7 separate regions of the Homo sapiens genome follow, and all the other regions are linked to region 1. The links are contacts of gene promoters, found by promoter capture Hi-C in blood cells and fetal thymus (Javierre and others, 2016). All regions are on one chromosome and are shown on one strand. The core of a region is centred on a gene start or on the middle of the fragment in contact, and the rest is flanking DNA. Distances in the headings are between cores, read along the strand shown.

The links. Contacts are between HindIII fragments. The CHiCAGO score rates a contact against its expected background, and 5 or more counts as called.
Region 2: a contact is called between a fragment that was not itself captured here and the fragment with the promoter of DLEU1 in region 1, in 9 of 17 cell types (non-activated CD4 T cells, naive CD8 T cells, total CD8 T cells and 6 more). The highest score is 11.5, in non-activated CD4 T cells.
Region 3: a fragment that was not itself captured here is called in contact with the fragment with the promoter of DLEU1 in region 1 in 1 of 17 cell types (fetal thymus); the score reaches 6.6 in fetal thymus.
Region 4: a contact is called between a fragment that was not itself captured here and the fragment with the promoter of DLEU1 in region 1, in 1 of 17 cell types (fetal thymus). The highest score is 6.2, in fetal thymus.
Region 5: a contact is called between a fragment that was not itself captured here and the fragment with the promoter of DLEU1 in region 1, in 3 of 17 cell types (fetal thymus, monocytes and non-activated CD4 T cells). The highest score is 7.4, in fetal thymus.
Region 6: a contact is called between a fragment that was not itself captured here and the fragment with the promoter of DLEU1 in region 1, in 1 of 17 cell types (naive B cells). The highest score is 5.4, in naive B cells.
Region 7: a fragment that was not itself captured here is called in contact with the fragment with the promoter of DLEU1 in region 1 in 1 of 17 cell types (monocytes); the score reaches 5.9 in monocytes.

What each region holds. Positions count from the first base shown.
Region 1 is chr13:50,080,047-50,083,999 of GRCh38, reverse strand. DLEU1 (deleted in lymphocytic leukemia 1) reads right to left here and starts at 1,831. Exons shown (of 7, transcript NR_109974.1): 1 at 1,443-1,831; 2 at 806-858. The region is part of intron 1 of DLEU2 (deleted in lymphocytic leukemia 2); the gene reads left to right. RefSeq lists enhancers at 907-1,702, 3,320-3,379 and silencers at 1,860-1,909, 2,310-2,529, 2,393-2,687. The HindIII fragment of the contact is 5,734 bases long and covers 1-3,953 here.
Region 2 is chr13:50,895,872-50,899,423 of GRCh38, reverse strand. The region is part of intron 1 of RNASEH2B-AS1 (RNASEH2B antisense RNA 1); the gene reads left to right. Among named protein-coding and RNA genes, the nearest start is that of RNASEH2B, 12 kb to the left of the region's middle. The HindIII fragment of the contact is 1,601 bases long and covers 1,360-2,960 here.
Region 3 is chr13:51,080,868-51,083,893 of GRCh38, reverse strand. It overlaps C13orf42 (chromosome 13 open reading frame 42), which reads left to right. Exons shown (of 4, transcript NM_001351589.3): 4 at 1-1,775. Among named protein-coding and RNA genes, the nearest start is that of C13orf42, 29 kb to the left of the region's middle. The HindIII fragment of the contact is 1,139 bases long and covers 1,207-2,345 here.
Region 4 is chr13:50,850,307-50,854,064 of GRCh38, reverse strand. No RefSeq gene overlaps it. Among named protein-coding and RNA genes, the nearest start is that of DLEU7, 8.5 kb to the right of the region's middle. The HindIII fragment of the contact is 5,277 bases long and covers 1-3,758 here.
Region 5 is chr13:50,933,215-50,937,087 of GRCh38, reverse strand. It overlaps RNASEH2B (ribonuclease H2 subunit B), which reads right to left. Exons shown (of 11, transcript NM_024570.4): 5 at 2,089-2,203. Among named protein-coding and RNA genes, the nearest start is that of RNASEH2B-AS1, 24 kb to the right of the region's middle. The HindIII fragment of the contact is 1,812 bases long and covers 686-2,497 here.
Region 6 is chr13:50,876,401-50,880,318 of GRCh38, reverse strand. No RefSeq gene overlaps it. Among named protein-coding and RNA genes, the nearest start is that of RNASEH2B, 31 kb to the left of the region's middle. The HindIII fragment of the contact is 2,773 bases long and covers 112-2,884 here.
Region 7 is chr13:50,977,168-50,980,705 of GRCh38, reverse strand. No RefSeq gene overlaps it. Among named protein-coding and RNA genes, the nearest start is that of RNASEH2B-AS1, 68 kb to the right of the region's middle. The HindIII fragment of the contact is 1,672 bases long and covers 482-2,153 here.

The DNA.
Region 1 (3,953 bases), core at 582-3,081:
TTACTAATATGCCAAGCACTGTTGAAATTCCTTTAATATGTTAGCTCATTTACATCCTTACAACAGTCCAATGAGGTATTAATAGTACTTGTTTTACAAAAGGTCCAACAGATAATTTACCCAACAAGGCACAGCTAGTAAGTAGTGGAGCTGGGATTCACCCAGGCAGCTCGGTTCCAGAGTCGACCCACTTAAGTAGTGCAAAAAAGTACCAGAGATTAAGTAGTGTATTTATACTACTCTGCCACGTTACTTCTTGCTGATCTCAAATTGCTAAAATCCATTTCTTTTCCAAGACACTTAAATAATGCAAACCATGCTACCCTTCTCCCACTTCCTTATTAGTACTTCAGGCACTTTCATATCTACTCTCTTATTTAACATTCACAATGAAGGTTTTAAAATATTTACAACTTTATAGGGCTCCACGCGGTGGCTCACGCCTGTAATCCCAACACTTTGGGAGGCCGAGGCGGGCGGATCGCGAGGTCAAGAGATCGAGACCCTTCTGGCCAACATGGTGAAACCCCGTCTCTATTAAAAGTACAAAAATTAGCTGGGCGTGGTGGCACTTGCCTGTAGTCCCAGCTACTCGGGAGGCTGAGGCAGGAGAATTGCTTGAACCCGGGAGGCGGAGGCTGCAGTGAGCCGAGATCGCGCCACTGCACTCCAGCCTGGCGACAGAGCGAGGCTCCGTCTCAAAAAAAAAAAAAAATTACAACTTTATTATCGTTAATTGTCCTATCAGAGTGCCCATTTTTTTTGAAGGTAGACAGGTTTGCCTAGATATGGTGCTTCTACTTACCAGTTCTAAGACTTTGGGGCAGATTTCTTAATCTGAACCTCAGGTGTCCTCATCTGTAAAGTGAAGATAATACCTACTTCATAAGGCTGTTGTGAGCAATAAACACGATTAATTCGTAAATCATTTATTTAGCACAGTGCCCAGCACACAGTACACAGTCAATACGTGGTAGCTGTCAGTATACCAACGTGTTGCACAACAGAAACTCGTCTTTGCTGGATTCAGTTCACTTATCACGCCATTAAAAAAAAAAATCATCCTAAGTGACACAGAAAAACTGCCCATTCCTATCTCAAAAAGTTTATGAACAAGTTAAGACGGTAAGAGAAACTGAATTCAATGAAAGCGCCTTCGCAACAGGCAGCTTAGGACCGGGAAGAAGGGCTTCAGCAAACTTAATCATTAACTCTAGGCAGGCGCGCGCGCACACACACACACACCGTTGAAGAAGGAGACCACGCCTCCTGTGTGGGCTCAGGTTGAATCGTACAGCGTGGTAGAGAACTCCAGGGCTGCTGAATCTGACAGATGTGGATTCATCCACTTCTGTGCCACCTGTGCTGTCTTGGGCAAATTACTTAACGTCTCTGAGCCTAGGTTTCCTGGTCTTCAAAACGAGAACAGTAATAGTTCCTACCTGGTAAAGTTGTTCCGAGGCTTAAGTGCGATAACCCCTGTAAAGCGCTGGAGAACGGCAAAAGCTCTACAAGCCGGCAGGGCGGTTTTAAATGCACGTGTATCCATATACAAGGTCTCATTGATACATTCCGTTGTTTGGAGTTTAGACACTGGCTGTAAGACGTTTTTCTTTTCTCCTAAGCAGGACCCGTATTTGTTTACCTCCAACGTAGACTAAATGCCTGTGGGCTGGTAGCTATAAGACGACCCCTCGGCCCCACAACCTCTAAGTTCACTTCACCTCCGCGGCTTTGCAAAAGCGCTACACGCACGCGCAAGAAGCAAGAGGACTGCAACCGAAGAAGCAAAGGGAGAGCCGTGCACCACGATGATTCTGCGCATGTGCCTGGCGGGAGGAGGGGGGAGGGTTGGAGTTTGCGCATGCGTAAAAATGTCGGGAAAGCAAGAGAAGGGGGGTTAAGAGGCGGTATTGACAGCTGTGGAGGCAGCCCGCGTTCCCGGCATTCCCTGGGGCGGCGGGGTTGGCTCTAACGAATTTGAATGAGGAGCCTCAGCGCTTTCGGCGCCATTTTCGAGTGATGCCTGATCTCATCAATCTAGCGGGAGAGACAGGATAACCTGTCCGAGAGTATAGCGCCACTATGACTCCGCCGGAAAAATTACTTTAAAAATCGCCAAAAATTACTTGGAGCAAAGGGCAGTCGGCGGAGCTTCGCCAAGGCTGGCGCAGTCGGTAAGAGCCTGAAGAAGTAGCAGAGCGGGACTCGGGAGGTGGCAGTGGTGGGACCCGCAGGCAGTGGTGGGTGCAGGGAGTGGGCGCGGGGTCTACTCTCACTTAATCGCGAAAAATCCGAGGAAGTAGGGTTAGGGGCAACTTGGGCGTCTGCGAGTGGGCGGCGGCGGGCGGAATGTGGCGGGAGCGCGGAGAGACGGGGCTGTGGGGGGAGGGGAGCTGCAGTTTGAGCGGGACGCGGACCGGCTGCGGCGGAGCAGCCGCCGCCCAGCGGATCTGTCAGCAAGACCCCCCGCCCGGGACCGGAGCCGGGGACGGCGCACTGCGGGGTCTCTGCAGGCGGCCGCTCCTTGACAGGAGGACTGGACGCGCGCCCCTCCCCCATTTCCGAACCGGGCCGCCTTTTCTCGCCGTTTTCTCGACCCGGTGATGGCCGTCATCTCGTGACAAGAAACTTAAGGTCGACAGAAAATTCAGGACCCGGAGTCATGGGTCCCTCCGGTGGGTCGTGGCAACAGTCCCCCCCGCCACCGCCCGGCACCCATCTATCTATATTGTCTTTTGACGCTGAAGCGTGAGGTGCCCCAGGAAAGAGTTTCCCAAGCCCTGGCTGCCCTCCCCCGGCGCGCTGGGTCCCGGTGAGGTCTCTAGGTAGGTAGGACTGGCCGCGGCTCGCGCTTCCAAGATGGGGCAGGGGCAGGCTTTTGAGGTTGTAGCGGGCTCTTAGGAAAGATGCTGGACTTTAGCTTCTTTCTGGGGATTTTTGTCATTTGCTCTCGCAGCGTTGTCCTTTCTCAAAGGGGAGGAGTGTTCACGGGTGAGATGAAAGATGGGGCTTCGAGCTAACGATTTCCTTCTCGTGGCTATTTCCTCCGAGTCGCACTTTCTTAGAAGACTTTTTTCTTCTCCGGTGTTTGAAACATGTCGCAAGGAAAAAAGCAATCTGTGAAACTATTAATGTTTTCCTCCCCCAAAAGTCTTTACCCGGACAACTTAACGGTAATTTTGCGATCCCCACCTTTTCTTGACGCTGAGGAGGAGGGACGAGAGTTGTTATTTGTCTTTCCCTTCGGTGATTTTTTTTTTCCCCCTTAGCTGGTGGTTTCTATCAATTCTTACTCCACAGCTCTTGAGTGATGTGAGCCAGTGACGGCATTAACTTTAGGTAATACTTCTATGGCCTTTGTAAAAATCCCGCGTTAAGGATGTATTAGATCTTGAGTTCTTTTCCGCGCTGGAGGCACCACTAGATTAACCCTTTGCCGGTGTATTGCGTGTGGGGCGCACGGCTCTGGGTTGCAAATATTCCGGAGATGCTTTCTGCAGCAGCTATTCTGTTCAGTTGTTCGCAAAGAGGAATAACGCTTCCTGGGAACCGCGGTGACACGCTTCTTTAGGACTGCCTGCCTACAGAGTTTTTCCCCGTGGAATTGATGTAACGATTGATTTATTTCTTATATTCTATGAAGACTGGGGGACCCGCCCTCGCTTAGAATGTTTCCCGGAGGAGAATAGAAGAGTGCAATGTGATGTTTTTCAAATTGTGTCTAACGGAGCTCCCTAAACTCTGGACTTGTTACCCCCTGATTGGCTGGAAGGAAGCGGGCCTGGGGGGTTTGAATGTTGAACGCTAAACTATAATTCTCGACTTTACGAAAAAATATACTTTTAGCCAGAGAACCACGGAAATAGCTACGAAACGTTAGGACGAGAGTTTAGAAAAAAAGTTGGTTTTTAATAGTTTTTTTTCCTCTCAGAAAGGATTTTCGTGTGGTT
Region 2 (3,552 bases), core at 911-3,410, 820 kb before region 1:
AACAAACTTCATATATGACAGCAGTCCTGAAGAATATAATATTGTATTTTTACTGTACCTTTTCTATGTTTGATATGTTTAGATACACAAAGACCATTGTGTTTCAATTGCCTACAGTATTCAGTATAGTAACGTGCTATACAGGTTTGTAGCCTAGATGCAATAGGCTACACCATACAGCCTAGGTATGTAGTAGGCTACACTATTTGGGTGTGTGTAAGTACACTCTGTGGTAATCACACAATGGTAAAATCGCCTAATGATGCATTTCTCAGAATGTGTCCCTGTTGTTAAGTAACACATTACTGTAGATGCATAAGTGAAATCTTAAGAACATACTAAGTCTTAAGTATAAGAAAGTTCCAGAGTGATACATATACTGTGGTATGATTTACATAAAGAATATGAACACTTAAAAATGGTGCATATTGTATATGGAATTTATGTAGATATCCCATGACATAAACATGTATATGATATATATGTGTATATGAGATATGTTCGTTATATATATTTCTGTGAATATACATATATATTATTTTTAAACTTGCCAGGAAAAAAAATGTCCCTGAATAGTCATCACTCTTTGGAAGGGAAAACAGGCAGTGGTACAAAGGCATCATTCACCTACATCTATAATAGTTCAAATTTTAAAATAAAATATTTAAAGCAAATGTGACAAAATTTGTCTCTACTTTCTGTATGTTTGAAGAAGAGCTTACTTCCTTATAGCCTGTACTCTAGATGGCCATTTATTTTCAAACAGAGACCAGATATAAAACACAACACCATGTCCTTAACTTGTAAAGAAGATAAGCTGGGAATACATCTTTTTAAAAATAGCTATATGGTGTGGACACGGTTTTCAGCAAAGAAAGCCCTAGTTCCTGTTTTCACTTAGGGTTGTGATAAAGGGAAGAGACTTGAGTGGCAGACAGAGATTTAGATTAGATATTAGAAATAACTTCATATCTCTGCAAGACACCTAAGATTGCCTGGGGATTTTGAGAACAAGAACTTTGCTGAAACAGCTTATGCTCTACCCTACTTGGAACCAGAAGAGATTATCAACATCCTAGTTGTCCTTTAAAATTTGAGATTCTGTCTGCCATTTCTATAGGCGTGAAGATCTTAACTGATCTACTCAGAATCTACAGCAAGGCAGAAAGAACGCAGTGGAAGAGAACAAAAACAAACAAACAAAACTTGGTCCTCAGCCATCAAGAGCCTGTTCTAACATTGGAAGTTAATGGTACTCTAACAGGACAGTGGCAGTGAAGGCCCTGGAGAGGGGAGGAAGGCAAAGAGGGCACCACTTCACTTGTACTCTAGTTATTTCTATCCATCAATCAGTAAGCTTGTAGAGGAGCTTTCAACTTCCATATGTGCAAGATGCTCTGTAGAATGCATGTAAGAAAGAAAAACATCATTGCTTATTCTTTAACAGCTTACAATCAAATTTGAAAAAATCCACACATGAAATATTAAAAAAAAACCATAACACAACAATCGGTAGCACAGTTGTGAAAGCAAGAAAAGGTAAGGACAATCAGTATGGGCTGGACTCATCATGAATGAGAAGGCATTTATAAAGAGCCCCATAGGATGAATGGAACTTGAACTGTCATGGAAGAGTTGGTTGAGAGGGCATTTCAGGTATAGGGTAAACATAGGCTGAAACCTGAGGGAGGAATACTCCCGAATACCATAGCATGTTGTTAAATGGAAGTTTCTGGCTATAGTGCAGATGTTTCAGAGAATACAGGAGGTGATGAAGTGAAATAGCTGAATAATTGGTGGTCACGGATTGCTTTTTATTTATTTATTTTTAAATTTTTAATTTTCGTGGGTACATAAGTGTATATATTTATGGGGTATTTTGATACAGGCATGCAATGTGTAATAATCACATCAAAGTAAATGGAGTATCTATCACCTCAAGCATTTATCCTTTGTGCTACAAACAATCCAATCATCCTCTTTCAGTTGTTTTTAAATGTACAATAAAATCATTATTGACTATAGTCATGCTGTTGTGCTGTCAAAATACTAGGTTTTATTCATTCTTTCCAACCATTTTTTTTGTACCCATTAACCATCACCACTCCCTGCCACCTCCACCACTACTCTTCACAGCCTCTAGTAGCCATCCTTCTACTCTCTATCTCCATGAGTTCAATGATTTTAATTTTTAGCTCCCACAAATAAGTGAGAACATGCAAAGTTGGTCTTTCTGTGTCTGGCTTATTTCACTTAACATAATGACCTCTGGTTCCATCCATGTTGTTGCAAATGACAGGATCTCATTCTTTTTTATGGTTGAATAATGCTCCATTGTGTGCATGTACCACGTTTTCTTTATCTATTCATCTGTCTATGGACACTTAGGTTGCTTCCAAATCCTGGCTATTGTGAATTGTGTTGCAATAAATATGGGAGTGCAGATATCTCTTTGATATACTGGTTTCCTTTCTTTTGGGTCTATACTCAGCAGTGAGATTGCTGGATCATATGGCAGCTTTATTTACAGCTTTTTTTAGGAACCTCCAAGCTGTTCTCCACAGTGGTTGTACTAATTTACATTCCCACCAACAGTGTGTAAGTGTTCTCTTTTCTGCACATCCTCGCCAGCATTTGTTATTGCCTGTGTTTTGGATAAAAGCCACTTTAACTGGGGTGAAATGATATTTCATTGTAGTTTTGATTTGCATGTCTCTAATGATCATGATGTTGAGCACCTTTTCATACACCTGTTTGCCATTTGCATGTCTTCTTTGGAGAAATGTCTATTCAGATCTTTTGTCTATTTTTAAATTGGGTTATTAGATTTTTTTCCTGTAAAGTTGTTTGAGCGCCTTACATTTCCTGGTTATGAATTCCTTGTCAGTTGGGTAGTTTGCAAATATTTCTGTGGGTTTTCTCTTCATTCTGTTGATTGTTTTCTTTGCTGTGCAGAAGCTTTTTAACTTGATGTGATCTACAAAATGCTTTAAAAATCAGCCAGAGATTTCTAAATTTGAGGATGGAGAAAAGAAACAAGTGTCTGTTCTTAAGTAGGTCAAGGATATATTGAAAATGACATTTCAAAGACTTCTTTAGCAGCAACGTTCATAATTAAGCATTTAATATGGATTCTTTATAAAATAAAAGTTCATCTTGCTATTTGTGCTTTTTTATATTAAAATATAGGGTGTTTTGTTAACTGATTACTTGATTATTTTAGAACATGCTTAAGAAGCCTAAGTATAATCAGATAACCTCAACATCAGTAGGACAACTGATGCTGAACCTTAACTTGGAGCTTTAAACTCTTTTCCAAATGGTTTGTCCTTTAGATTTTCACTGCATCTAAGCACTGTGAGCTAGTTATTTCTCAGAAAACACCAATAACAGTAATAACAGCTAATATGGCAAAAATGAAAAATTCAGACGACTTAACTATACAGTGTTTATATAATGTTCATGTGCCATTGAGAAGGGGTGCTGGAAATGAGTTTTCAGCCTCAGTGTACCAGGACAGCAGGTCGAGCACAGAACTGAAGCCTTGGGCTC
Region 3 (3,026 bases), core at 527-3,026, 1.0 Mb before region 1:
GAGCTGAAGGAATGGAAGGTCTTGAGTGGAGTGTCTGGGCTCACTCCCCTGACCTCACCTGGCCTGGTCCTCATTCTCCACGTGTCTGTCCAGGTGGCTGCTAGCAATGTGCTCAGTACCAGAAATGAACTCACCTGTAGATTTCTGGGCCAAAGCTTCAAAGAGGTAGCTCCTCTTTCTATGAGGCTCAGAGACATGCTGGATCTGCACTGAGGTTGCCGTCTTGTGTGCAGAATGCAGTTGAGAAAGCAGCTCCTTTTGCTCTCTTTTCAGAGTTTTCCAGAAACTCCTGCTGCATTAAGCTAAGATGAGGCTAATGCCCTGGCAATGGGGTGAGGGAAGGGGTATGTCACGAGCCTGCCTGGGGGCCACACTGTTTCCTCAGGCCCCAAAACTCAGCTCCCCTTCACATAGGCAATTGACAAGAGAAGAAGGGAGATGGGGTGATTCTTTTCTTTTTCTTCTAATTCTTACCCAGAAAAATCTTTTTAAATATCCATGGAACCAGTTTATGACAGGCCACACCTTTCCCTTTCCCCAGTTAAGAGAACAATCAGAATCATTACGTTCTTTTGGTATAGAAAGGATTTCTGTATTTTAGGAACTATCTGAATCAGAATTACATTTAAAATATATTCTTTGTATTTCTAAATACTTTTTACATTTTTGCAATAGTTGTACCCATTCAAGCTTGAGAACCACTGGTTTGGAGAATATACTGAAATTTATCTATTCTCACTTCTTTTTTTGGCATTTTCTTGTAAACCAGTCTGTGCATGTATAAGGGTCTTTGGGCAGAAGGAAGGGAGAGAGACAAAAAACAGAAAACAAAACAAAACAAAGAAAACCACAATCATTTGAATTAAGCCAAGGATGTTCTAGGCTAAGGTCAGGCTAAGAACTGAACAGAGGCTTCCTTTCTGCCATGCCTGTGGGATGATATTCTTATTGTTCCATTTTTTAGGAAGAACCTTTTGTTTATGTGAACCTGATCATATGAATCTAAGAATATGTAACTCTTACAAATAAAAAACAGCTAGTAATTATATTGCATTCTTAGAAATTTTATCTCAACATGTTTTCAGAATGAAACCATACTAGAAATGTTTTAATACCTCTCTTTATTATTTTTCGAGTGCCAATGTCAATGTTTGGAAAGTTTCTTTCATTTTGTTGCTTGTACTAACCCAGCTATAGCCAGAAGCTTGACTGGAAAGTAAATGTTTAGGAGATTTGTTTTATAAACTGCATTAAAGCACTGCCATTTATCACCACAGATCTTTTATTTTCCCTAAATGTGGCCTTGTTTGAAGCCTCATCTATAAAAGTTCATTGTTGGGGATAAACTCAGGATAAAGGTGTCTTTACTCTGCCTCTTATCAAACTACAGTTTATCATAGATCCACCCTGAAATTATGTGGTGAAGATACTGTGTACATTTTGTTTTTAAAGATAAGAAAAAATAAACATGACTGCGAGGATGTTTGGAGTCCTGATTTTTTAAAAAGCATTTATTGCTTATGGCACATGAAGCTGTGCCGTCTTATTTTGCTTTGTTTTGTATGTTTTTTGTCTTTCATGAGACTATACACAGCCTGAAAAATTCCATGATTGGGAAACAGAAGGTTGTCTTGTCTTTGGGGATCATTTTTAGGTGTTTGAAGTTGGTGATAAACCCAAGGATCTGTGCTCTGCCTGGGGAATCTTGAGATGGTGTCTGGTGGGGTTTGAGATAAATGAAATCTGAAACAATAAAAGTCAATTCAGAAAACCCAGTTGAGTTGACAGATTCTTTTCTTCCTTGGATTGGCCAGTTATTCAATGGAATCAAGCTGATCACTGAGGCTATGTTAGATCTCTGGCTTTCCCAGGATTCTCAGTTTTGATACATGAAAATCTACCTATCCCTAGACAGAATGTCAAAAAGAGAGGATGTGCATCCGTGGCATCTGGCTTGTTTTTTAGCACCTGGTTTCTAGCTCCCGCTACAGACTGTCTTCTGCTTCATGGGGCAAGATGCATGGAGCTGCTAGTTTGATTTGAATCGTGTGTACCCAGCCATGTGCCATGCAACTGAGAGCATTGCTGCCAAGACCGACCTTCCTGGTGCCCATTCTCAGACACAGAGCCCAAAGTGTCTCTAACAGGACACTGTGTTCCTCTCACCACTGTTCGCCTTTGCAGAGAGAATGAGTTTCCTGTTGCTGCTGTAATAAATTACCACAGACTTAAAGGCTTAAAACAATATATATTTATGCTTTTACAGTCTGGAAGTCAGAAGAACCAAAATCAGTTTCACCAGGTTAGGTCAAGATGTTGGCAGGGCTGTGTTCCTTCTGGAAGCTTTAGAGGAGAATCCATTTCCTTGCTTTTTTCAGCTTTCAGGGGCTTCCTGCATTCCTTGGCTGGTGACCCCATCCTTGCATCACTCCAACCTATTGATTCCATCATCATGTCTCCACCTGCTCAGTCTGTGCTCCTGCTTCCCATTTATAAGGATTTTTTTTTTTTTTTTTGAGACAGAGTTTTGCTCTTGTTGCCCAGGCTGGAGTGCAATGGGCACGATCTTGGCTCACCGCAGCCTCTGCCTCCTGGGTTCAAGTGATTCTCTTGCCTCAGCCTCCTGAGTAGCTGGGATTACAGGCATGTGCCACCATGCCTGGCTAATTTTGTATTTTTAGTAGAGACGGGGTTTCCCCATGTTGGTCAGGCTGGTCTCGAACTCCTGACCTCAGGTGATCTGCCCACCTTGGCCTCCCAAAGTGCTGGGATTACAGGTGTGAGCCTACGTGCCCGGCCCATTTATAAGGATCTTTGTGATTACATCACTCTCACCTGAGCAATCTCTCCATCTCCAAATCCTTAATTTAATCAAATCTGCAAAATATCTTTTGCCATATAAAATGACATTCACAGGTTCTGGGGATTAGGATGGAAACATCTTTGGGAAGCCATTATCTAGCCAACCATACAGCATCACAAGATGTTCTAGTCCTAACAGACCCAGCCCAATTCCCTTTTAAGCT
Region 4 (3,758 bases), core at 64-2,563, 770 kb before region 1:
AGCACCAAGGGGGATGGTGTTAAAGTATGGGAAACCATCCCCATGTTCCAGTCACCTCCCACCAGGCCCCACCTCTAACATTGGGGTTTACAATCGAACATGAGATTTGGGTGGGGACACAGATCCAAATCATATCAGGCAGTCTTTCTGAAACACCATGGAAATGTTCTAGATACAATCTTTGCTTAACCCCACACTCAAAGGCAGAGGAAAACTGACATTTAAGGGCCAAAGAGAAAAAGGATCTGACAAGGAAGGACCAGCCAGAGAACTGGGAGAAAAAAAAATAGACAAAGATAGCAGAAGCCACGAGAAAAGAAATGCTTTTTCAAGAAATGGTTAAGAGACTGACAAAGGGTCACTGAAGTTATAAAAATGTTGACTGGCTCTTAGGAAAGGCTCTGCTCTGGGAGTGGAGGAGGGCTGGAATGGAATTAGAAGTGAGGAAGTAAAAACAGGGCAAACAGGGAGGCCTTCCAAGGAGTTTGCTTCTGAATGGAGGATGGAAGTAAGCTGGATTGACAGAAGATGGGATTTTTAAGCAGCAAAAAATAACCAGCGTATTTAATGAAAAGAAGCCAGTGTAAAGAGTGCATTTGGAAACTTATGAGATGAATAAACTTAAAATAAAAAAGGATTTAGTGATGCTTTATGGGCTACATTAAAAAATATTTTCTTATTTAATTCATAAATATTAATATTATCCCCAGTTTACAGATAAGGAACTTGAATTTCAGAGAGTTTAAGAAAATCACTCCATTTACATAGTAATAAGGGTTGTGGGGCTGCATCTGTGTCTATCTGATTCCAGACCTTGTGTGTGTGTGTGTGTGTGTGTGTGTGTGTGTGTGTGTGTTTAAAATGCCTTTTAAAAATTACACAGACAATTCAAGGATGTACTTTTTTTTGATAAAATATCTAAACAATGTAGAAATCCACTGTTAGTCATTTGGTTTAGATCCTGCCAGACTCATGTGTAATTTCTTTAAAACATCAGAATCACACTATTACCCTCCAGTGGCTTCCACTCATTTAAAATCCAAAGTCCTTGGAACCACAGAATCAAAGTTTACTGGGGAAACTGAATATTCACACAGTCTCAAAATATCCCTCATAAATGATTTATTAGTTGCAAAGCAGCAAATGTACCTATGCAGGGGAAACCATTTTAAATGAGTGATCAAAAGTTTACACCACCACCAACGAGATATTAATAGAATGACATCTGGGGTCTCCTAAAGTATGCACTGAGGTCACAGTATTTATGTAACATTATTGCCAAAAATGCAAATGAATTTAATTGTGAGGGAATTTTTATACAAGCAGGAATTGAGGGAAAGCCTACAAAAAAACTTACCTGTACTATTAAAAAATATTAATGTTATGAAAGACAAAGGCTGAGGAATGGTTCTAGCTTAAAGGAAACAGGGAAACAAAAGACACATGACAATTAAATGCAATCCTGGATCAGAACGAAAGGAGAGAGGGGTCCTATGAAGGGCATTGTTGGGGCATTTAGTGAAATTTGAATGTATTAGACGGTAGTAGCTTGTCAACGTTCAATTTCCTGAGTTTGATAATCATACCATTATTATATAAGAGTATGCCCTTGTATTTAGGAGATTGATAAAAAGTATTTGGAGATTAAGGGTCATGATGTATGCAACTAACTCTCAAATATGTTTTAAAAAATGTTTGCTGAAAGAGATTGATGGAGAAATGAAGCAAACGTGGCAAAATGCTAACAACTGATCAGCTTCTAAAGAGTATATGGGAGTCCTTTGCTGTATTCTTACAATGTTTTCTCAAAATAAAGAGTTAAGAAAAAAGTCTATGTCCTTATAGAAGGCCCTCTGAGGTCCCAGCGCTCTTCTATTCCATCAAGTCCCCAGCATGCACTCTGTTCCATCCCTTATGGTCAGAGATTTCAGTTATTTACATTTTCCCTTTTCTTAAATTACACATACTGTACATACAACTGTGTACACATGTGAATATTTCTGTAGGACAAACACCCTTCAAAGAGGCTACATCTGTATTGTCCCCCACATGGCTAGCATATGACGCTAGCCATTACCCTGCATTGTTGGTGAACTGTGTATTAACAAACTTTTACTTCTGCCAGTGAGGGGTTGGGGGTGGGGGGATCATATCAACAATGGTGATCTCATTTGCATTTTCCTGATTACTCATGAGGTTGATGATCTTTTCATATGTTTGTCAGACCTTGAATTTTCTCTATTACCCTTCACCTATATTCAATCAAAGTCTATGCCATTAAAAAATTTGTGGTTGCTCTTTGTATATTAATTTATTAATTCTTTGTTTTTTACATTGCAAATATGTTTTCTCAGCCTTCCACTGGTTTTAAAATGTTATTTATAGTGTCTTTTATCAAATTAAGGTTTTAATATTTTATGTAATAAAATTTACCCAGTTTTTTCTTTATGACATCTTGACATCTGGCTATTGTGTCTTATTTCAAAATGTCTTCCCCATTTAATGCTTGTCAATATATCTAATAGTATATTCTTTGAAAAAAAGTTTATTTTTAACTTTTATGAATACACAATAATTGTACACATTAATGGGGTATATGTGACATTTTGATACAAGCATGCAATGTATAATGGTCAAATCAGTATAGCTGGGATATTCATCACCTCAAATATTTAACATTTCTTTGTATTGGAAACATACCAAATCTACTTCTCTAGTACACAATACATTATTGTTAACTATATTTGCTCTATTGTGCTACTAATTACTAGATCTTATCCCTTCTGTAATAACTGTAGTTTTGTACCCATTAACCAACCTGTTTTTATCCCCTTCCCCCAACACACTCTTCCCAGTCTCTGGTCTCTATCATTCTACTCTGCACCTACATTAGAGCAACATTTTTAGCTTCCACGTGAGTGAGAACACACAATAATTGTCTTTCTTGCCTTAATTCTTATTTGTCTTTCTAGCTTATTTTGCTTAAGAAATGTCCTCCAGCTCCACCTATGTTGTTACAAATAACAGGATTTTATTCTTTTTTATGGCTGAATAATATCCTGTTGTGTATATGTACCACTTTTTTTTTTTCTTTTTGAGACTGAGTCTCACTCCGTGTCCCAGGCTGGAGTGCAGTGATGTGATCTCGGCTCACCGCAACCTCCACCTCCCAGGTTCAAGCAATTCTCCTGCCTCAGCCTCCCACCACATTTTCTTTATCCATTCATCCACTAATGGACACTTAGGTTGAATCTGTATCTTGGCTATTGTGAATAGTGCTGCAATAAACATAGGAGTGCAGACATCTCTATGATATACTGATTTTCTTTCTTTTGGATATATACCCAGCCGCGAGATTGCTGGATCTTATGGTAGTTCTATTTTTAGTTGTTTTGAGGAACTTCCATACTGTTATTCCTAGTGGCTGTACTAATTTACACTCCCACTCACAGTGTATGAGGGTTCCTCTTTCTTCATATCCTCACTAGCATCCATTATTATTAGTCTTTTTGTTCTGTTTTTTTGTTTGTTTGTTTGTCTGTTTGTTTTTGCTCCTGCTTGAAGTCTCTCATGATCAAGGTAGACTATAATATACATGATGGATTCATCATATGTATTATATATTTTACCCTGTCATGGAATAATAATTACTCAAAATTCTTTAAAAATAAGCCACTGTTAAATAGATTGTACATTAAAATGAACATAGAGAAAGTATTCGATTTTTGTTCTTAGCAAAAGTGAGTAGGACATTAAGA
Region 5 (3,873 bases), core at 342-2,841, 850 kb before region 1:
CTGTGTGAAATTTATTCTAAAGTATTTTATGTTTTGCCCATCACTTAAAAATAAAGAAAAAAATTGAGGCCTAGGGTTTTTGAAATCTGGCAAATATAAAGGCTAATAATATAGCTACTTTGAAAATGGAAGTACAGAACTTCCAAAAGTTAGGCAATATTGAGAAGCAAAGGAGACTAAGACAAGTTCAGATAATGATGCAATAAATGGTCAGGAGTTCGGTGTACAAGAGGGAAGGGATGACACAGAGAGAGCCTCTTGCTCTCGGCTGCAGACTGTAAGGAAACAAATGCTGAGGCACTAACATTGTTTCTAAATCTGGATTTCTGGGTTTTAAGATGATTGTTCTTATACAGCTAATAGCAGAATTCTGGACAATGAGTTAACTGCATTTTCAGCTTGCATTAAGTTGACAAAAATTAACATGGCTTAATTAAATTATTCTTCATTACTTTATCTTTTAAAAGTGGTTATGGGCTAATTCAGGTCACCCACAAAAAGACTGCTGTCTTCTGCCAAACTCAGCATCAGGGAATGTCTTTAATGGAACTGCTTTGATAAAACCCTGGCACCATATACCCCTCAGTTCCAAACTGGAGCTCCAAGTGTGGCCAAGTATGAATTTACTGGACCCCTTAAACATAAAATGCAATCAATAAGGTTCTTCTCTTTCCCACTGTAAGCTTACACTTCTTGGAATCACCACTTTCTTGGTCCCAGAAGAACTGTCATAGTTGGCCAAACCATCTATGACCCAAACAGCCACAACTTATCAGCCTGATGCTCTGGTTCCCACACTTTGTTTCCATATTAACCCTGAAACTACTTGGATGATTTTTTAAGACACCAAAGCCAAGTTTTTATACTATTTCTAACCTGTCAAAACACATTCACACACACTGCCTTACTTTTCCCTCTGAAAAATTAAATGAATGATAGTGAAAACGCATCTCTTCATTACCCTATCCTGCTCCTCCAGCCCATGTTCCCTGTGTCCAGGATCCCACCACTACACATCCTTTGGGTCAGGCACAAACCGAGAAGTCACTCTTGACTCCTCCTTCTCCTTGACCACCACCCAACAACCAGATGCAGTTGGGTCCATCTCTAAATGGCTACTTTCTTCTTGTTCTATCTCCTAAGATCAAGGCCACCATTATCTCCTGTCTGGATCACTGCAACAGCCTTGGTGGACCTGGCTTCTCCAATATACTCTCCACACTGCAGACTGCCATGCTTAAAACTTCACAGACACTCCACTACCATTAAGCAAAGTCCAAACACACACAGGGCCCTTTACCATCTGGACCCATGCCCAGCATTCCCGCCTCATTCCTTACCAACCTACATCCTTCCCCAGAATCCTATACTTTGAACTCCTTGGAACTTCCTGAACCTGACAAACTTTTCCATACATCTGAGCCTCTGTTACACTGCTTCTCTGACTATCCTTCAGGACTCCATAAAGAGGTCATTTCCCCCAGGAAAGCAACACAACATCTACCCACCTACATTCCCCACCCAACCCCGCCAGATTAGAAACCTGTCCTGTGCATCCCCAGTAAATTCAGAGTTCACTTCCGTTACACTGTGCGGTCACTGCTCAGCTTGTCATTGACCCCCATCAGACTGGGCGCAAAGTGAAGAAAAGGACAATGTCTTATTCATAAGTATCTAGAGCTTAGCACTAATGTGCAACATATGCTTTTTGGAAGGTGCTCGATAAATGCTTCCATCTATTAAGGTACAGGTTTTACGTAATTTTACAATGAGACATCTGAGGCAGAAGGCAGCTGAGTGACTTGCCTGATGTCACAGAACTAGTTCAAAGAAGAAGTGAGACTGAAGCCACACCTTGTGATTCCTGCCCTGTGGACGTAGGCCCTAGACTGCCATGGTTGTAGTTCCAAAGACTAAACACTCCAAAGCAATAGAGGAACAGTGCTGGCAGTGTTAGCAAATCTGAATGATAGTTTTCCCTATGGTGGACACAGAATAAGCCTTACATTCAGTGTGTCTGTAAGCAGCCACGTTCTTAGGCAAGGTCCATCCTTTCTACCAGCCATAAGCCTTTAAGTTATACCATACCTTTTTCCTCTGTCACATGATGAAGTAACTTCTCAAGTCCAGGAAGTTTCAGCAACAAGATGCAATTTGGAAACACGTTATCCACCACAACTTGATCAAGGGGCTGAAACTTCCCCTGAAAAAACAGTTAGTTGGAAAGCAAGCATTTCATTCAACAAAGACATTCAGAAAAAAAGAGAAAAAGACACATTAACTCATGGCTGGGCCTTTAAACTTAGTGCAGAAGCCACCTATTCCATCTAAGGAATCCCTACAATGGGACAGGCTCTAGGACGGACCCCAGCTCCCTTCAGGAAGCTCCTGTGAGCACTGGAGTCCCACACAGCACACCATCTACCTTGGGTGTACAGTCCCCAAATGAAATGGGGAAGAAAATCAATCTACAAAAGCACTGGAAGCCACAGAAGCTTGCAAAGATGGTGGAGACTGCCTGGGGATGGTCCAACCCATTCAATTTGAAGAACCAGCTGTGGTCACAGAGCAAGAGTCCTGACTGTCACATTGGAACAAGCCCAGACCAGGCCCAGACATACATCTGCCTCCCCATCATCACTCTAGGGATGATGAAAGAAGCACCCGCCACAAAAAGAAAATACAAAAGTGAATCTACCCCTGTCAAAGCTGCCTCACAATGCTTCCAAATTTAGACCAGAATAAAAGAAAAGACAGCCAGAGGGAGAAGTCATGGGAAGCTGCAGACAGGCTAAATCAGGCTCAGCCACAGAAGTTTATATGGCCTGGTTGCCAGTGGGCCAGAAGTGCAGACCATATGGATTCACAACATCATTCTTTGGAATTAGGTCTAGTTTTTCGTAACTGTACTAGTAGCAAGTAGAGGTGAAGTTTGTCTAAATTAAGGTATTAGCCCCCTGATTTGGGGACACCAGACTGTACCAGATGTATGGCCTTGCCCATGACCCACTTCTAGCTCGCTCTACCTCTCGTGTACTGACAACTCCTCCTGAAGACACAAAAACTGCATCTGATCAATTTCTGCAAATGCAGCTTTCTTGGGTTTTAAGGGTAAAATCTTCTCAATCATTTAAGAACACGTGATAGCTTGCCATACTTTCTCTTAGGTTAACTAGTGCCATGAACTATCTCAATTTAAATGTTCTTTTTCCTTCAAATAGTAAGAATAATGCACAGATTTTTCCCAAGTCTTACTGTCTTTAGATTTCTACCTTAAATCTATAGTCTTCCATGATCAATCAATATCTTAAATATTTGACTACTCTAAAACAATATTTATATGTAATGGACTACCATACAATCATGATATAAAATAATTTTGTAATTAACTAGTGTTTCATTCTTATTTTTATTTACCATATATACATTGAAGGAAATGCAATAAGCAACCTGCCTTGACTATAAAGCTAGTAGCAGTGGGATACCTAGAAAAAAAGTTATTTTTACTGATGTTAAAATAAAGTTTAAAAGAACAGGTCACATTTCAAAAGTGTGTATCAATAATTTTTAACTAAATAGGAAATGATCATGTCTAAAATGTAGAGAAGGAAATACCTAAACATCTCAAATGTTACTTTAAAGGGCATTTTTGGCACTTGGGAAGACGTGTTTGGGAAGTACGACGGTTTAAAATGAAAGCCAAAGGCCACCCTGAACAGCATTTCTGCTTCATTCTGCACTTGTCAACGTGAGCTCGCCATAGCACCCTGGAGGTGCCCAGAGTGCCAAGACAGGGTTAATCCCCCAGAGTCATGGTCCTAATGGGAGATGGAGAAATGCTATCAAAAAGGGGAGGGGGAGCCTTAAGTGCAG
Region 6 (3,918 bases), core at 249-2,748, 800 kb before region 1:
AAAAATCGCAAAAAAATCTCATGTTTTAAGAAAGTTTATGAATTTGTGTTGGGCCACATCCAAAGCCATCCTGGGCTGCATGCAGCCTGCAGGCCATGGGTTGGACAAGCTTGACTACAGCTTTAAAGTGATCTTAATCTAATCAATTCTTCCCCATTCAGAAGAAACCTACTACATCAGAGTCTATTGAGAATCTATCTCCCTAATCACCCTCAGGCACAGGGTTATTATGTATTGATATCATACACACTAAAAAATTCCATCATACAGGTCTAGAAATACTTCCATAATACAGTAATATTTTAATAGAGTCATAACACACAGACAGCCACCCATTCTGCCTGTAGCCAGTCATGGAGCAATACATTTTGTACATAACCTGTAATTTCTTCTGGAGAGTGTAATTACAATGCCAATATGACATTTTATTTTTATTATTATTATTTAGTTAGTTAGTTAGTTACTTTTTGAGACAGAGTCTCACTCTGTCGCCAGGCTGGAGTGCAGTGGTGTGATCTCGGCTCACTGCAACCTCTGCCTCCCGGGTTCAAGTGATTCTTCTGCCTCAGCCTCCCGAGTAGCTGGGACTATGGGTGCCCACCACCACACCTGGCTAATTTTTGTATTTTTAGTAGAGATGGGGTTTCACCATGTTAGCCAGGATGGTCTAGGGGTTGATAAACTACAGTGCACAGGCCAAATCTGGTTTACTGCCTGATTTTGTAAATAAAGTTTTATTGGAACACAGCCTTGCCCATTTATTTACTTATTGTCTCTGACTGCTTTCATGCTACAATAGAGTAGTTGCAACAGAAACTATAGTCTGCAAAGCCTAAACTATTTACAACCTGGACCTTTAGAGAAAGTTTGCTGACTCTTTTTTTAATGGATAAACTAAAAGTATGTAAGTAAACATGATTTCATGTCTTATGATATGTCAGGTGAATGGTACAATCCTTTGGTTTAAGTTCTTAGTATTATACCTAAAGTATATCTACCATGAAATGCATTTTCCACCTTTCATAGTCTCAGCTGGTTAATCAAAATAAATGGATTCTATGGCATAATTCAGGATGTTACCATTTTTGCTTTTTAGATCAGCTCTTCACCCACTGTTTTCCTGTCATACACATGGTGTTCTTAAAATTGTAAATGAAAACTCATTTGAACTTACATTAGTAACTTCTGTTAAATTATACTGGATTGCTTATTAAGTAAGCATTATTATCCACATTAAATCTGTCACAGATGAAAAAATTACACATAAAGGAGACTGCTTGAGGCCCCAGGGCATGCTGTAATATACATAGAGGCTCCTGAATACTTGGTTTTCCATGTGGATCTCTGATTTTGCTGAAAGAAGTCTGTAAACTGATGTAGTCAGACAGCTCCCCACTGGCTACACATCTCTATAGAATTTAGAAGCATTGTTTATTTCAGCAGAGGTCTGGAATGAATTTTCCTTATAATTTAACTCCTGAAATGACTGTTTCAAAAGGTCAACTGTGGTGAACTTGCATATGTGACTTGCAGTCACAGCTAAGTCACGATCCCTTAGTTTTTCCAGAAGTCCACTAGAACGTTAGCTCCATGGCACTGTTATCTTGCATCTCCAGGTCCTGAAACAGCCCTTAGTGCATACTAGGTATTCAATAACTTTTTTTTGAATAAATGTTTTATGTAAATTCCATCACAAATATGGAAGATCTTAGAGGGGATTTTTGAAAACCAAAGAAAGTTGAAACTCCTTCACATGGAGTTTGGATGTTGAACTTAGAGGCTTGACTTAGCCATTTTTAAAAAACGAAATGTGTGTGTATGTTTATTTAAGGTACCTTAGTGACAGGTACAACCTACAGCCCAAAGACAATGTACAAAACCCAATGAGGGGACAAGCCTCCACTCTTTTATAAGATGCAGAAATTTGCAGGAGTCTATCACTCTTACTCTAACCATGAGAACAGACCAGAAGCACTACAAATGACAGTTTTATTTGTTGTTGCTTTCATTTGCATGTTTCACACTCATCAGAGAACCCAGGAGCCAAAAAAAAAAAAAAAAAAAAGAAAAAAATCCCTCAAATTAACTACATTTCCAAAAGGATCAAGCTCTTCCTAGAGAGAAGAGTCCCACAGCTGCTTTTGTTCCTAGGGACATGTTGGAAGGAGCACAGAAGAGGAAGGGAGAAACCAGCCTATCTTTAAACAAATTTTGGATGATTGTATATGGGTTGGCATAACAGAGTAGAATCACAAGGTACCCCAGGAATAGAACTAGTCTGTACCCACCCAGCCTCCATTGAGTGGATGGGAGTCGTACACTGAAAGCTGGTGCCAGGGTAGGAGAACTGAGAAATACCCTCCCCAGGTACACCAGGTCTTCCCAAAGTACAAGAAAGTAGCCCACTGAGCACAGGAAGCAAGGCAGGAGAAGCAAGAGGGATTCTCCAAGGCATGTGAGGTTCATCCATTGCAAGGCAGTCCCCATTACACACTGGGGGTAAGGCAGGAAAGCTGAAAGAAATCCCCTCCTAGAAAGCACGAGGCTTTCACCAAATGCAAGGCAGCAGCCTGCAGTAGCCAGAGGCAAAGCAGGAGAACTGAGAGAAATAGATGCTCCCGAAAACCCTTTCAACTCTCCAATCCCCTCAACCCTACCCACCCACCTCACCCCTACCTCCACCCTCCCTACACAAGGTCTCTACTGAGTACATTGTAGCCACCTATTGAATGCTGGAGGAAGAGCTATCTTAAGGCTCTGAGATGTGGAGGCAGAGTTTAGGCAAAGAAAAGGCCCCAGCAACCCAAGAAGTTGGTGGCTGGGCTGTAAGGCATAAAGAGAACTCCCACAGTTTGGAAAGTTGGGGGCTGGGCTGTGTGAAGCTTGGAGAACTTTCCAGAGTCTTACTGTCTCTAGGATTCCAAGATACACTGAGAGAAAAGTACTGATTCTACTTTTCAGATATTAAAACCAGCCATGAACTGAATCACAATAAGCTGTGACAAAGCTCAGACCCAGCCCAACTACACAGAGATCAGATGGGCCCTGTCTCCAATCACAGGGGACTGACAGAACCAGGGCTTTGCCATTTTATAGGCATCAGTATTATTTGCTTCAGTCACTATCGTTGTTTCTACATGAAATGGTCAGCATACAACAAAACGTGTATATGTATCAGCAGTGTTTGATTGTTTTAACAATGTTTATAGATAGATGATAGATAAATAGTTACTAATACCATGTTCATGGGTGAAAGATTTAATATTATTAAGACATCGGTTGTCTCCAAATTGATAGATTCATCGCAGTCCAAATCAAAATCCCAACAGGCTTTTTTTGTTTGTTTGTTTTTGTAGGAAATGACAAGCTAACTCTAAAGTTCACAGGAATGAAAAGCACCTAAAATAGGCAAATTCATTTTGAAAAAGAAGAACAAAGTTGGAGGGCTAAGACGACCTGATTTCAAAGTGCAAGGCTTCAATAATCAAGACAGTTTGATATTGGCACGAAGATACACAAAGAGATAATGACACAGACATTAGGTCCAGAAGACAGTCCAGTAATAGACTTTCACATATATGGACAACAAATTTTTGACAGTGCCAAGGCAATTCAGTAGAGAAAGGATAGTTTTGCAACAATGGTGCTGGAACATTTACATATCTGTATACAAAAAAACCCCAACTTTGATCTATACCTTCCTTCATATGCAACAATTAACTAAAAATGAATCTCATATATAAATGTAAAATGTAAATCTAGGCCGGGCGCGGTGGCTCACGCCTGTAATCTCAGCACTTTGGGAGGCCGAGGTGGGTGGATCACGAGGTCAGGAGATCAAGACCATCCTGGCTAAGACGGTGAAACCCCATCTCTACTAAAAATACAAAAAAAAAAAAAAAAATTAGCCGGGCGTGG
Region 7 (3,538 bases), core at 68-2,567, 900 kb before region 1:
GTAACACTACTGATATTTCTCCACTAAACATAATGTTGACTTTTATTTTGTATAAATTAGGGAAGTACACATCTATTCCTATTTCACTGAATTATTTTGAGATCAATAATGGCAGTTGAATTTTACTAGGTATCTTTTTTTTTTTTTTAATATAGGAAGGGGTTTAATTGACTCACAGTTCCACAGGGCTAGGGAGGCCTCAGGAAACTTACAATCATGATGGAAGGGGAAGCAAACACATCCTTCTTCACATGGCGACAAGAAGAAGTGCTACCAAGTATCTTTTAAGTATCTAAGGAGATTAATAATACCTTATTTCTTTCTTAGATAACTAATATGGTAAGACTTCTTAATATTGAACCATCTTTATATTATGAATAAACCCCAATTTGTCACATTGTATTATTCTTTTAATGAATTGTTTGAGTCTATTTGGTAATATTTTATTTAATATTTTTGCATTAATATTTACAAGTAAGCTTGTTTTTTTGAACTCTACAATCACCAGGTTTTAAAAAATCAGTATTTTGCTCACCTTTTTGTCCTGTTTAATAAATCTTTCCTGTACCCAAATCAATTTCATTTTGCTTGGTTTTCTTATTTTTAACCTCTGAGCTCTTGTGCTATTATTATTGTCTATCTTCCTTCAAACACATCTTTGTTTCTTTGATGGTTTACATTTTCCCCCATGCCTACCCTGTAGTGCGCCAGCTCAAACAACATCACTTGTCTTTCTGTGACTTCCATGATTCTTCCCTCTCTACTTTGTGCCCAAACTTCATAGAGGTAATTGTTTAAGTATTTTATGTTTGTAGTAAAATGCTTTTTACTATTTTTATCTGCTCTTTGGCAACACTTTATCTGCCATTTACTTTTTCTGGTCTTTTTTTTTCTTGTTTTATGTTTCATATCTTTGAAATAACTTGGGTTTGTTCTTTTTGGTTTCTCATCTTTGAGGCACAAGAGTTTTCCTTGGGCCAAATATTTACAGGGCCTCATCCCAGCCTAGTAGGAATTTTCTTTATAAACCAGGGTTTTGCATGCAAGTTTTAGTTCTATTTCTCCCTGATCAATAAAGACAGGTAGCTATGGGGATTTTTAAAAAGCAACGTCTCTCTTCTTTCCCTCTGCCACTGAGATAGATAGTTCCTGCAAATGTGATGTGGATGTGTGATTTTTTTTTTTTTAACTCCATCACCTCTTCATTTCACAACTAAATTGGGTCTTGGAGAGTTCTTGCTGTTCTGGTGTGTATACTGGTTCCTTCTGTCATAAACATGTGACTTAGACTTTATTCCTCACCTCTGCCCTCTCTGTTTACAAATGTATTTTTGCTGACTCAGTCTCATTTCCACAGCCATGAACTCTTCCTTCCTCTTTCTCCTGGAAGCTCCCCTGCTTTTTGCAGTCCTTCCATCTATTTGTTGTTCATAGTTTAAAATACCTCCTAGTTTTGCTGAAAATTGATTTTTTGGTTTCCATTTCTTATTTTCCTTTTGCTTTGGATGATTTCAAAGAAGAGATTGGGGGTGGGAGGTGGGGATAGAGGATGAACTTCCCACCTCCATCTTCAAATCAGAAACATTAGTATTTCAAAACTTTAGTGTGAGTAAAGGGTAAAAGGCAGCTATTTCTGAAAATCTTTTAAAGAAAAACAATATGGGATTCACTTTATAGAGCACATAGACATTGAAGCCTCAAGGTGGATTTAAAGCATTCGGGGTATTTTCTTAGCTTATCACTTGGGAAAGTCATCTAATCTTTCTAGGCCCCATTTTTCCAATGAAGGGGTTTGACAAGAAGATTCCTAGAGCCTGAAGACAGAACAGACTAGCCTTGAAGCCCAGTGTTCTCTCCTAGAGAAATATACAGAAGCATGCAAGCCTGTCCTGCCTGAGATTCATGGGCTGGTTACACTCCAGCCACCGCTGCCTCTGTCACCCTGCCTTCTACTCTAGCTCCATGGCAAATATTTAAAAACCAGACCTTTTCATAGGCATCATACTGATTTAGTCTCTAATCATGAATCCAACCAAAATATCTGGATCCTCTCTGCCATCAGTCCATGGTGACCAGATCTGGGCTGTGTTAGGGGTCATTGCATTCAGCCTGTACTCTGGAAATTACACTCCCAACATTCATTTACTAAAGCTTTAACAAAATTATTCAGACAAACTATCCATTTAAAAAGTAGACTGAGTAGTTATCTTTGAAGACCCAAGGAATCTTTACCCAAGATTAATAAGAAAAAACAAACTGAAAAAAAAACTGGTGATTTTGTTCACATTAAAAAAAAAATGCTGCATGTTAACCATCTGTCATGGTTTACTAATTAAATCACTGCAACTAATCTTGTATTAATATTTTTTTAAAGTTAAAAATGGGTTTCCTGAAAATGCTTAGAATTTCTGTGGAATTGCTTAGAAAGTCTTTTTACTTTTTGAACTTCCTTGGCCTTATAAAACTGTCAGCAGAGCAAAGTAAGGGCCAGTTTTCTGCAGCCATAACTCCCCCATCTCTTTTACAAGTCTTTATTCTTCGGAAATATAAAGGGTTGTGTTGAAAAGCATTAACTGGGGGCCGGGCGCGGTGGCTCACGCCTGTAATCCCAGCACTTTGGGAGGCCGAGGCGGGTGGATCATGAGGTCAGGAGATCGAGACCATCCTGGCTAACAAGGTGAAACCCCGTCTCTACTAAAAATACAAAAAATTAGCCGGGCGCGGTGGCGGGCGCCTGTAGTCCCAGCTACTCGGGAGGCTGAGGCAGGAGAATGGCGTGAACCCGGGAAGCGGAGCTTGCAGTGAGCCGAGATTGCGCCACTGCAGTCCGCAGTCCGACCTGGGCGACAGAGCGAGACTCCGTCTCAAAAAAAAAAAAAAAAAAAAAAAAGAAAAGCATTAACTGGGAAAATAAATGAGCAGCAAAATTATCAGTTTCCATTCAGTGATTAGTTGCCTCTGGTCTGCTTGTTAACAATGGAAAGCCTTTGAAGGCTGACGCCTTTCTTTGCACCTGGGTAAATGAAGTCACCTGACTTTGCCCTCACCTTGCCTGGGCCTGTCCAACCCTAGGGCCCCCAGATAGCTGCTGGCCCTCTAGGCTGTGTCCCCACTGGCCTGTTAGCCAGCCCTTATGGTTCTAAGAACAACTTATCTTGGAATTTCCACTGCCAGCTTTAGACTCTAGCACCAGGCAGAGAAAAAGTGAAATTATATCCCAAAGAGATTCTTCAAACCCAAAGAGCTAAGACTACTTCCTTGCTGAATTCTCACTGCTTCTGATTCTGAAGACAGGGAAGGTGTTGTCAATTCCTTTCTTTCCCTTGGGCCTTGCCTTGGGCTGCACCTGCCTGAATCCCATTCATTCCAGCTCAGTTCCACCTTCTCCATAAGAGCCTCCCATCTACACCTGGCAACCCTGTAGCTCCCTTTTTATGGCTCTTTATTCTGTTTGAGAACCTACATTTCCATCCCTTCAAAGCCAAACTCCTCTGTCTGACTTCAAGACATGAATAGCCTTACCTCACACTGCTTCTAG